Regions from separate parts of the Homo sapiens genome. Here region 2 is linked to region 1. Evidence: promoter capture Hi-C in 16 types of primary human blood cells and fetal thymus (Javierre and others, 2016). All regions are on one chromosome and are shown on one strand. Each heading gives the region's core, a stretch centred on a gene start or on the middle of the fragment in contact. The rest is flanking DNA. Distances are from core to core; before and after follow the strand shown.

Region 1 (5,451 bases), core at 161-2,660:
ACAGAATGAAGGCTGCTAATTAGCTGACCTTGAGATGGGAAATTATCTAGATTATCTGGATAGGCACAATGTAATCACAAGGTCCTTCTAAGTGAAAGAAGGAAGCAGGAGACTCAAAGAAGGAGATGTGACACAGAAGCAGAGGCTGGAGCCATGAGATTGCTGACTTTGAAGATGAAGGAAAGGGCTGCAAGCCAGGGAATGCGGGAGCCTCTGGAAGCTGGAAAAAGCAAGGAAAATAGATTTGTCCCTAGATCCTGCAAAGAGAAACACATCCCTGCCTACACCTGGATGATAGCCCAGTGAGACCTGTGCTGGACTTCCAGGACCTACAGTCCTGGAAGATAGTAGTAAATCTGTGTTGTTTTAAGCCACTAAATGTGTGAAAATTTATCACAGCAGCCTTAGCAATGAATACACTGCCCAACTTGTAAGCAGAGGATGTGGTGGCTTCAAAGTCCAGGCTTTTTCCCTGCTACTCCTTTCTTTCTTTCCTCCCTCATGCCCAATATCTGTCATCTGTTGATTGGTTAGTAACATTCTCAACGCCTTACTGTTTTATTAAACTTATAAAAACAATGTATTGGTTTAAAAAAAAACAATTCAGTGGTTGTGAAGGTAAGAATCAATAGACAATTTCTCCACCGTTAGCCCCGCCTCTTATAGAAGCACATGCAGCATGTCTTCTTCATACACGAATGTAATGCTAAAGCTGATGCAGTGGCTCAGGCCTGTGATCCCAGCACTTTGGGAGGCCGAGGCGGGAGGATCACTTGAGCCCTGGCGTTCGAGACCAGCCTGGGCAACAAAGTAAAACCCTGTCTCTAACAAAAAATCAAAAAGTTAGCTGGGCGTGGTGGCGGCGCACTTGTGGTCCCAGCCTCTGAGGTGGAAGGATCGCTTGAGCCTGGGAGGTTGAAGCTGCAGTGAGCTGTGATGGCACCACTGCACTCCAGCCTGGGTGGCAGAAGCAGACCCTCCCCCTGGAGGGGAGGGGAGGGGAGGGGAGGGGAGGGGAGGGGAGGGGAGGGGGAAAGAGAGATCCTACTCTCCATTTTAATACAACTTGCTTTTTTAATTAAAAACTATAGCTAGAACCGATAGATTTCACTCGTCCTTAAAAATAGTCCTGTATTATTTTATATAAACATCTCTCGCTATTTATCAAGGCCGTCACTTGTTCAGAAGTATTCTCACTTTTGTTTTGTTTTGTTTTGTTCTTAACAATTTGCTCCCTATATTCCTGGGCTGGCGCCTAGGCCTGCATCCGGGATTTGGCGCCACATCTGCGGGCAGGGCCTCTGAGGTCTAGGGGAGGGACGGCGCCGGCCAAGTCCCGCCCCCGTCCGCGTCGACCAATCAGCTCCCTGGAAGGCCCCTCCTCACCACCCCCCACCCCCGCAGTCTCCGCCTAAGACTTTCCAAGTCCTGTAGTTTCGAGCCCGCTGCCCTTTGCCTCCTGGGCGGAGAAGCTGCTTCCTCCTGGGAACAACCGCCTCCCGCTCCTAGCAGGTTGCTACTGCCCCGAACCCGCGCTGCAGGGAACAGCGGGGCAAACAGTGAGTGGGGTTCAGCGTAGACTCTGGACCAGGAGAGGCCCGCGGTGACCGAGGCCTGGGCCCCGGGTTAGTGTCCGGGGCGGGGAGCGGTGGGCGGGGTGCGACGTTTAGCGTCTGGGGAGGGCCGGGCGTGGATTGCGGCCTCTGCGCGCGCCCCCAGGTGATAGAGCCGTTCCACCGAGGATCCCTTCCTTCGTCTCTACCCCGTTGATGATTTTTCTCTGCAGCTCGGTGCCTATTTCATTCTCGCCGCATTGTTATGCCCTCTGCTGGGCAGGAGGCGATGACCCCCCCTATTTTCGTAGGATTTGTTTTTTGCTCCGCAAGGAGCCATTAAGATCTGAGCTAGCAGGAACCCTCGAGGCGATTTGATCTCGCCAGCTGGGGGCTTGCATTCTTCTAGGCTAGCTTGTCTCCGTTAAGCCCAGGTGGAAGTTCTCATCCACCCCAGTGCTCTAGGCGCCCACGGGCGCAGTGTGGGTTTGTGGTGGGGGAAGGGACCTGGGGAGGGGTGGCGGTGAGAGCGGCGCGGGGATTCAGGCTGAATGTTAGTCTGGAATGCATTTGGCCTGAAGCAGCAAGTGCTGGGTGATACAGTTCCCTGGTAAACAGCCGAGAGCTGGCCGCTAGTTTGGCCCAACCTGCAACGGAAGAAGGCCTTAAGTACAGGAGAAAAAGATCTTTGCCAATTGGATAATCATGGAAATTTAGAAGAAGTACAGCTCGAACTAGACGTAAAGGACAGAATGTGTCTGTCTAGCTGACCAGCCAACCATCGGTCCATCACTTTCATCCTCCAAACTAGTGATTTGTTGATGAATTGGTTTCAATACTTTGTTTTAAAATGTTGAATAAAAAGTAAATGAAATATCTCAGAATGGTCTAAAAAATAATGAAACGAATGCCTGACCATCTCCTTGGGTCAAGAAATAGGGCGTCACAGTACCTTAGAAGCCCATGAGTCCCAACTGATGCCCATGGTCCATTCTCCTCCATTCTCTGAGATGTGACATCTTTCGTGATTTTTGTCTTAATTTAATGAATCCCTTGCTTTTCTTTTTAGTTTTACCATATTTGTGTGTGTATTCCTAAAACATATGTATTGGCTTTCTCATTATAATGACATTATATTAATGACATTATCCTGTACGTATTCTTAAGTTTTATAGATTCATCTTTCATGCTTCCTTCCATTTTCGTTTTCGTCATTTAAGGTGTAAATGTACATAATTTATCCATTCTACTGCTGATGGACATTGGATTGTTTCTACTTTTGGAGGTGTATGATTTATCTATAAGCTATGTAACAAATTACCCCAACACCTAGCAGCTTCAAACCAAAGCGAACAAACAAAACAAGTCCTGTTACCTCCTATCTTACAGTTTCTGTGATCAGGAATCCAGGAGGGGCTTAGCTGGGAGTCTCTGACTCAGGGTCTCTCACAAGCTGTATCAACAATCAAGGTATTGACTGGGCCTCAGTCATCTCAAGGCTAGGCGTAGGGTCGAGGACCTCTCCCAGGCTTACTCACATGACTGCTGGCAGGCCGATTGGCCTCACTGACCCTGGCTGTACACATCAGTTCTTTGCCACATGGGCCTCTGTATAAAGAATGGTTGCAACATGGCAGCTTACTCCCCCCAGAGAGAAGGCTCCCACAGAGAAAAAGAGAAAGACAGAAGTCAGATTCTTTCTGTAACCTCAGAAGCGACATCCCATTATTTTTGCCATTTTATATTCATTAGAAGTGAGTCCCTAGGCCCAACTCACACTGAAGGGAAGGGGGTGACACAAGGACATGAACACCTGGAGGCAGGGATTATCGGGGCCACTTTAAAGCCTGCCCATGTCCTCTAATATTCAAGTACACTTGTGTGGGAGCTTCCCTAGAGTATATAGCTGGGAGTAGAATTGCGGAGTTATAAGATTTATGTGTATTCAATTTTATTGGGTCATTTCTAAACTTTCCAAAGTGTTAAACCAGTTTGCACTCCCTCCAGCAGTGGATGAGCATTCTTGTTGCTCTACATGCTTGCCACAGCTTAGTCTTGTAAAATTACATTTTTTGTCAGTCTGGCAGGTATGAAATAGCATTTAACTGTGATTTTAACTAGCATTTTCCATAACTAATGAGATTGACTTTTTATATGTTGATCAGTGCTTTCTCTTTGTGAAATTCTGATTCCTGTCTCTTTCATTTTTGTATTGGATTGTTTGTTTACCTTTTTTATTGACTCATTGGAATGCTTTCTTTATATAATCTGGGTACGAAGCAGTAATTGTTAGCTATATATGCCACAGACATCTTTCCAATTTGCTTTTGAGGTTTTCTTTCTCTCTATGTCTTTATATCTGTTTCTTTCTCTGTTTCTATCAATGAATCTAAGTTTTGAATTTAATTTCAAGTTAGTAGTACTTTCTTTTATAGCTTTTCTTGTTTGATAATTGTTTTCTCAAGATCATAGATTAATTTTAGTGTATCGTTTTCTAAAAGTGTTATAGTTTTGCCTTTGGCAATTAGTCTTAATCCACATGGAAACTGATTTTTATGTTGTTTATTCCATATGGATAATCTGTTGCCCCAGCACCAGTGATTTGCATGAATCAGGATTTCCATATAAGCATGAATTCGTTTTAAGCCCCCATTCTTATTTTCTATTTGTCTAACTCTGCCTCAATACTAAATAATTTTTAACCACTATAGTTTTATTAAAAGCCTTGAAATTTGGTAGGAAAAGTCCTATCACCTGTTTCTTCTTCTTTAAGAGTGTTTTAGCTTTACTTGGACCTTTGACCTTCCATATAAATATTTAAATAAACTTATCAAGTTCTCCAAAACAAGAAACAAACAAGCAAATAAACCTGTTGGAATTCTGATTGATAATGGATCAACTCTGTGTCTTAGTCTGTTTTGTGCTACCATAGCAGAATACCTGAGACTGAGTAATGTATAAGGAACAAAAATTTATCAGCTCACAGTTCTGGAGGCTGGGAAGTCCAAGATTGAGTGGCTGGCATCTGGCAAGAAAGAGCCTTCTTACTGTGTCATTCCATGGCATAAAGGCAGAGAAAGGCTGAAAGAGAGTGTAAAAGGAGGGTGAATGCCGCCTTTTATAATGAACTCACTCCTACAGTGATGGCATTAATTCATTCACTCTGCTGTCATGACCTGATGGCCTCTCATTAAGCCCACCTCTTAACACCATTGCATTGGGGATTAAGTTTCCAACACCTGCTTTTTGAGGGACACATTCAAACCATTGCACTCTATAAATTATTTTGGGCAGAAATTATTTCTAAGACATTGGCCCTTTTCCTCAATGAACATGGTATATGACACTATTTAAGTCATCTTCAATGTTTTGTACTATTTTTTATTGTTTTCTTTTGGCTCAGTTTTTGTTAAATTTCTAGGCACGTCATATTTTTACTGCTATTGTAAGCATTTTCTTTTGTAAAAGTTATATTTTGTAGTTTATTGTTGCTGGCATACAGAAATTCAGTTGCCTTTTATATATTAATTATATATCAATCAAACTTGAGAAAATTAATAATTCTAAATTTACCTGTAGCTTCTTTCAGATTTGCTACATAGGCAATCATATCATCCGAAAATAATGATAATTTTGTTTATTCGTTTCTAATTCTCATACCTTCAATTTATTTTTTCTGTCTTATGACAATGACTAGGAGCTCCAGTACACTGTTGAATAAAAGTAATAAAGGGCATCTTGTTTTGTCCTTAAGATAATAATGAGAAATATTTCATTATGTCAACTTAAAAATGACATTTGCTATAGTTACTTTGTAAATGTCTTCCCCATCATAAGAAAATTCTGTTCTTCTTTTGGTAAGCACTTTTATTATAAATGGATGTTTTTTCAAATGCTT
Region 2 (6,173 bases), core at 1,105-3,604, 120 kb before region 1:
CCTCCTACAAAAGCCATGTTTTACACCAGACATCTTTTTGTTTGTTTGTTTTCTTTTGGAGACAAGATCTCACTTTGTCACCCAGGCTGGAGTGCAGTGCAATTAAATTATATTTAATTCATATTATTAAATATAAATCATTAAATTTATAATATTAAATCTAAATATGTAATTTATATTATTGCTGAGCTAACAATAATATATCATCACTATACGCCACTTTCCATGTCATTAGCTACCTTTTCCAATATAAGAATATGCTACATTTTACTCCATTGAACTATATTTTTTGAAATGCTGTCCCATTCCCTGATTTTTCTGTTATAAACAACATTGCAATGAGCATCCCATTTTTACTTTTACATAACTTCATTTTCTTAGTATAAGTTTCTAATTGGAATTCCTATACTGCAAGTTTTACTTTAACCACATCATTATCAGCCTTATTCATGGGACATGCTACTCTAGTTCTCACTACAAACTTTTACACTCAGTACTTGCTCTGCTCATAAACATTTGCCCAAATACAAATAAAATAATATTTCATTGAGCGCTGACTATATACCAAGCATGGGTCTAAGTACTTTATCTGTATTTAATGGAGTTTTCAAAACAATGCAATGGAATCGGTGTGATTATTAGCTTTGTTTCAATTATGAGGAAACTGAGGCACAGAGAGGGTAAAGTCATCCAAGTTTACACACCAGGAACTAGCTTCAAATCAGAAGTCTAGCCCAGAGACAGGTTTTTGCAGCCACTGCCCTATACTTCCCACAGCTGGCTCCAGCTCATCATTTGGGCTTTGTGTACAATGCTACCTCCTCCTGTCCTTCCCTTGATCATTGTTCCTAAAGCAGTCTATGCTTACCCTGACCTGCCCTGCCCCACTACCCCAAATCTGCTCTCTGACTTTTTCTTTCCCCAAGAGACTGGGTCCTATCATTTACATCTCCCAACTTTTTTTTTGCTGCCTGGTTTCTGGATAGATTCAGCCAACAGAATAAGCATGGGGAGAATTAGAAGGAAATCCTGCTATCTCAGTCTCCCTTTGGAGATAAAAGAACAAAAGGAGACTGAGATAGCAGGATTTCCTTCCAATTCTCCCTGTGCTTTATACTATGTCTCTAGCATAACTGAATCCCTCCAGCTCTTAGAAGAGCTGCCTGTTCTGCCAGCTCTTAGAGATGTTAATGGCTTCCTAATGTTGCTGGTCTCTGGGTGCCTCAGCATCCCTTGTTTGTTCCTGTATCCCAGTTCACATCTCTGTAAGTGGTGCCTTCACTAAAATCTCTTCATTGGAATCATCTGAGATAAACTATGTTTCCTGGCAAGAACCTGACTAATAGAATCAATATATTCTCTTTATTTTCTTCATGCTACTTTTTTATAATCTGAAGTCAACATGTGTATACTGTGTTTCTCTAGCTTCAAGTTTAAAATTCATAAATGGAATTTATGAATTCCATTACTCTGTTTCCTCAGCATGCAATAAATATTTGTCATACTTACTTATCTATGTGTTTATTTATTAAAGGGTCTACATATTAAATTGCCCTCCAGAAAAAAAAAAAAATATATATATATATATATATGTCTGTGTTTCTGTCAAAGAGTGGCCTTAAGTCAAAATATTTTTGTTAGATGCATCCTGAAACAAACAAACAGTCTATAAAATAGACATTGAGTTCCAGGGAGACCAATTCAAAGGTGCCTCTCAAAACACTTACTAATAGCCGCTGATTGAAGGCCATGGCTGGAGCCCAACAATCAGTGTCCTGTATTTTCTCTGATTAAAGTCAACATTTTTCTTTGAAAATTGTTGTTATTTAACAGGCAATCTAGAAATGGAACAAGCAGGCTGGAGGTTAGCACTGGTAAAAAAATTGAATTTTAATTAGAGAACCCACGTTCATCCTCAGGGATTGAATGGCAGTGAATACTAAGGCTTGTCTGGCTGAAGCTTTGGGCAAGAAAAGATCTGAGGAGCAGCAAGACCTCCCGGTAGAAGGGGCTGCATTTTCACCAAGAGGAATTGGAAGATGGGGTGGGCGGGGGAACTGGGGTTTAGCGGAGAGTTTTGATAAGGAGGATGGCTTTGGGAAGAGAAATAAAGACAGAGGGAGAAGACTCAGCACAAGAGTGAGGAAAAGCCATGGAGTCCCCTCCTCGCAAGGGGCCAAGCCCTTGAGGGACTTCCTTTATATGATACACAGCACAGAAAGCCAGCTGGAATGTAACCGCTGACCTTGTGCACTGAGGATCAGTGAGTTAGCCTCTTCACCTGTGGCATCAGAACTGTTTAGTTATGTGAACGAATACAGTCTATTGTTTTAGCCACTTTGAGCTGAATTTTCTGTTACTTATATTGGAAAGGTTCCTAACTGATAATTAATCTGGTACCAGAGATGCGTGAGGCAAGGAGGCCCTAAGAGGTGAGATCGGCTACAATGAGATAGGATGGAGGGTCGTGGGCATGTCTCTTTCCCATGCTGGGACGTTAGTGATCTGCATTACGTGTTTGCAAAACAGCTGGTTAAAATGCCACCTATGCTGTCTTGTGAGTCAGACTATGAAACTAGCTTGATAGATAGGATAGATAGGAAAATAGACTTGATAGGAAAATTTTAGACTATCAGAGTACATTAAGTACTTCTTGTGGTTCCGATAGAAAGAAATGACCTTCGACTGTCAGTGTCTGAAGGCAGAGGGGGATGGCACATAGGTCTCCCTTGTCCAAATGAAGCTTTTTTTTTTTTTGCCTTTAACCAGCAATCCAAACTGTCAAAGACCCCGGTAGTCTTGAGCTGGCATGAAGAAAAAAGCTAAACTCTCTAGTTGTAGCCCAAAGTAACTCCATTCAGGGAACTTCTGAAATACACGTTATTCCTGACACAAAGTTGTTATTCCTGTTATAGAAGGTCATTTATTCACAGACATACAGCCCCGGGGCCAAGTGCAGCTTATTAGTGAGTCCTCATGGGATCATTATTTCTTCTTTTTCAGGGGTAGAAGACAAAGTGTACGTCATTGAAGAGAAACAGGGGAATGAACATTGAAGGCCCATTTCTAGGCCATGCAGAAATTCCCAAACCTAATTTTAGAATCAAGTATTTCACTTTGGTCACTAGCCCAAATTGATGGGACCAAAGAGAATAAAACCCCACTATACATTTGTGGGAGTTTTGACAGAGAAATGTGTGGTAGTATTGACAGAGAAATTCCACGCCAGATTGCTAATAGCCTCTGCTTAACTCAACTTCTAAAGTGTCTGCAGAATGCTAAAAGTGAACTGAGAAGTGGGTTTCTAAAACACCATGGTCCCTTGTAGATCAGCGAGGAAGCACCTTCATTTAAGTGCTCTGGACTGTTTAGTTATGTGATTTTGACTCTGTTAACCTGGAAACTAGCTAAGATGGAATGTGTCAACTGTATGGTTGGTTCACAATGATTTTGAAAAAACAAAACAAAACAAAAAAGGACTCTTGATTGTTAAGTTACATCTGGACTTGGAGTAACAATAAAATAATTATAAATAGTTATTCTAATAGGCATGGCAATTTTTTGGTGTGTTTGGTGATTCTTATAAGGGGCACGTCCCTGTTATGAGAATCCTGCAATCTATGTCCCTGCAGTTCTTATAGGACATACTGGTTCCTATGGATCATGTGGCTTTTAAGTTAGGAAAATCCCTGCACCCTCCAATGTGAATCTCAACCTTTGATCTAAATTGTCACCTATGAAGAGGACAGCCTGTGGGCGGCTATGTGGACCAGTACACAGATTGCTGATGCAAAAGCTTCTGCTGAGAGAAATGCCTGACATTGTCTTACTAAATAGCAGCTGTTCTTATCTGATATCCTTCTGAGTCATTGGTGGCTAATGTGGCCTTCGGGAGTCTTTTGAGTTTGAATACTTAAATAAACCAGTGAAGATGCCCTTGGTGAGCAGAGCATGCTTAGAAAAACAAATTTCCCTGTTGTGTAACTCACATGTAACCATGGGAGACAATGAACAGGAGATCCTCCCAGAAACAAAAAGAGGCAATCAAAGTTTATTTTGTCTGTTTCCAAGTTTAAGACATTTTAAAAGGAAAAAAAAACCAACAATTTTATCTGCACATATGAACAGGACTGCTTGATATTTTATTTTAGACCTGGAGCTTGATGTGATCGATGGGACTCTATGTTATCTCCATTCAGCAGTAGTGTGAGAAGTTGTGAGTGTGTGTGTGTGTGTTTGGTTTTATTCTGTTTTGTTTCTGTTTTTTTAGCATGAGCATTTTAGAAATTCCCCATTCATCTTGGGAAGTAAAATAAATGAGGGTTTTACACAACCAAAATGAAGTAGTATAGTGGGTATGTACTATTTTGAGCCATTCAGCATCAACTGCTCCCTCCTTGATATGGTTTAGCTCTGTGTCCCCACCCAAATCTCATCTTGTAGCTCCCATAATACCCACGTGTTGTGGGAGGGACCCTGTGGGAGATGATTGAATCATGGGGTTGGGTCTTTCTCATGTTGTTCTCATGATAGTGAATGGGTTTCATGAGATCTGATGGTTTTGAAAACGAGAGTTTTTCTGCACAAGCTCTCTCTTTGCCTGCTGCCATCCACGTAAGATGTGACTTGCTCCTCCTTGCCTTCTGCCATGATTGTGAGGCCTCCCCAGCCATGTGGAACTGTGAGTCCAATAAGCCTCTTTCTTTTGTAAATTTCCCATCAGCAGCGTGAAAACGGACTAACACACTCCTGTTGGTAACAGAATCACAATTTTAATTCAGGTATGTACTCTCCTTTGTGTAGCCCATGAGCTTTGGAGGTCGATTCCATTTCTGGTCCCAGGTGTAATCCCTGACTCGCTTAAGCCCATTAGCATGTTTCAGTCTCTTGGGCATAGAGATGGTTTCAGGGGAAGGCATGGACATATGACTAAATTCTAACCCATAACACCTGAGGAGAAATTTTATAAGGGTTTCTAGGAAAGAAATGTCTGTTTGTTTGAAATAAGTGCCAGGAGAGGCATTCTCTTCCTACTAGAAGAAGTCTGGGGTCCCAGAAGATGCTGACAGACATATTATGACCACAAAGAAGTCAGTTCCAAGTGGAACCAAACTACGTGGAAGGCAGAAAGACAGATAAAAGGAAACGGGATGTTGGAGATACAACCGACCTGAGGATCAAGGCTCGCCTAAAATGTGTCCATCCTTTGTTAGGTTACTCAAGACAATACATTCTCCTTACTGTTTAATCCAGCTTGAGTCAAACCTCCACTGCTTGCATCTAAAACATTTCTTAATAATCTGTTTCCTGTTTATACACTAGACTCTTCATCTCATATATGTCATGTTATTTTTTCCCTGACTATGTACTTTAATGATAAAAGCCATAAATCCTTGGACTCTTGGGAGAATGCAAAACAGTTTCCTTGAATTTCCTGTAGATTCTGCCATATGCCATTTTCAGAAATACACTCTTTCCCTTGGTCTTTCCACGCTGTGGCTTCCTCGTGTCCATAGGTATGTGCTGTTGTCATTGCTCTAGCTCATCTTTAACTAAGGTGAAATTTGCCAAGATTCAATACAGAGGTTCAAAGCATCTTCCTATCTTTTTCCAGATCTTTTCTTTCATGAAATCAAATCAAAATAAGTTTTAACAGGACCAGTTTCCTTCCTTATAATTGTTTCATTCAGCCCAGACTATGGCATTAGGCAGTGCCAGTCTTGGGCTTCGGTCTGGTGATCATTCCCAGATTAGAGGGATCTGGTTAGAGAAACCCACTATATACAAGGTAGTAGATTGTTAACATAGGGATCTATTTAAGAAAAAAAAAAACAGTTAATTAAGTTATAGTGGACAAAATAGGAAAGCAGTCCCCAATTTCCCACTCTTGGTTCCTAGGAAGGATGCAGTCTGCTCATACTCTCAGGGTACAGGTGATTAGAGAGAATAAATAACAGCTCTCTTGGCTATGTTTTTGTTTGTTTGTTTGTTTGTTTGTTTGTTTTTTGAGACGGAGTATCGCTCTGTCACCCAGGCTGGAGTGCAATGGCGTGATCTCGGCTCACTGCAACCTCTGCCACCCGGATTCAAGTGATTCTCCTGCCTCAGCCTCCTGAGTAGCTGGGACCATAGGCACCCGCCACCACACCTGGCTAATTTTTTTGTGTTTTTAG

Evidence for each region. The method cuts DNA at HindIII sites, captures the fragments that hold promoters and counts their contacts. A CHiCAGO score of 5 or more calls a contact.
Region 2: a contact is called between a fragment that was not itself captured here and the fragment with the promoter of TCAF1 in region 1, in 1 of 17 cell types (M2 macrophages). The highest score is 5.1, in M2 macrophages.

What each region holds. Positions count from the first base shown.
Region 1 is chr7:143,898,135-143,903,585 of GRCh38, reverse strand. TCAF1 (TRPM8 channel associated factor 1) reads left to right here and starts at 1,410. Exons shown (of 9, transcript NM_014719.3): 1 at 1,410-1,625. LOC105375549 (a long non-coding RNA gene) reads right to left here. Exons shown (of 3, transcript XR_007060574.1): 3 at 1,633-5,451. RefSeq lists a silencer at 1,250-1,389 and enhancers at 2,180-2,229, 1,905-2,442. The HindIII fragment of the contact is 7,751 bases long and covers 1-5,451 here.
Region 2 is chr7:144,017,364-144,023,536 of GRCh38, reverse strand. No RefSeq gene overlaps it. Among named protein-coding and RNA genes, the nearest start is that of OR6B1, 20 kb to the right of the region's middle. The HindIII fragment of the contact is 783 bases long and covers 1,963-2,745 here.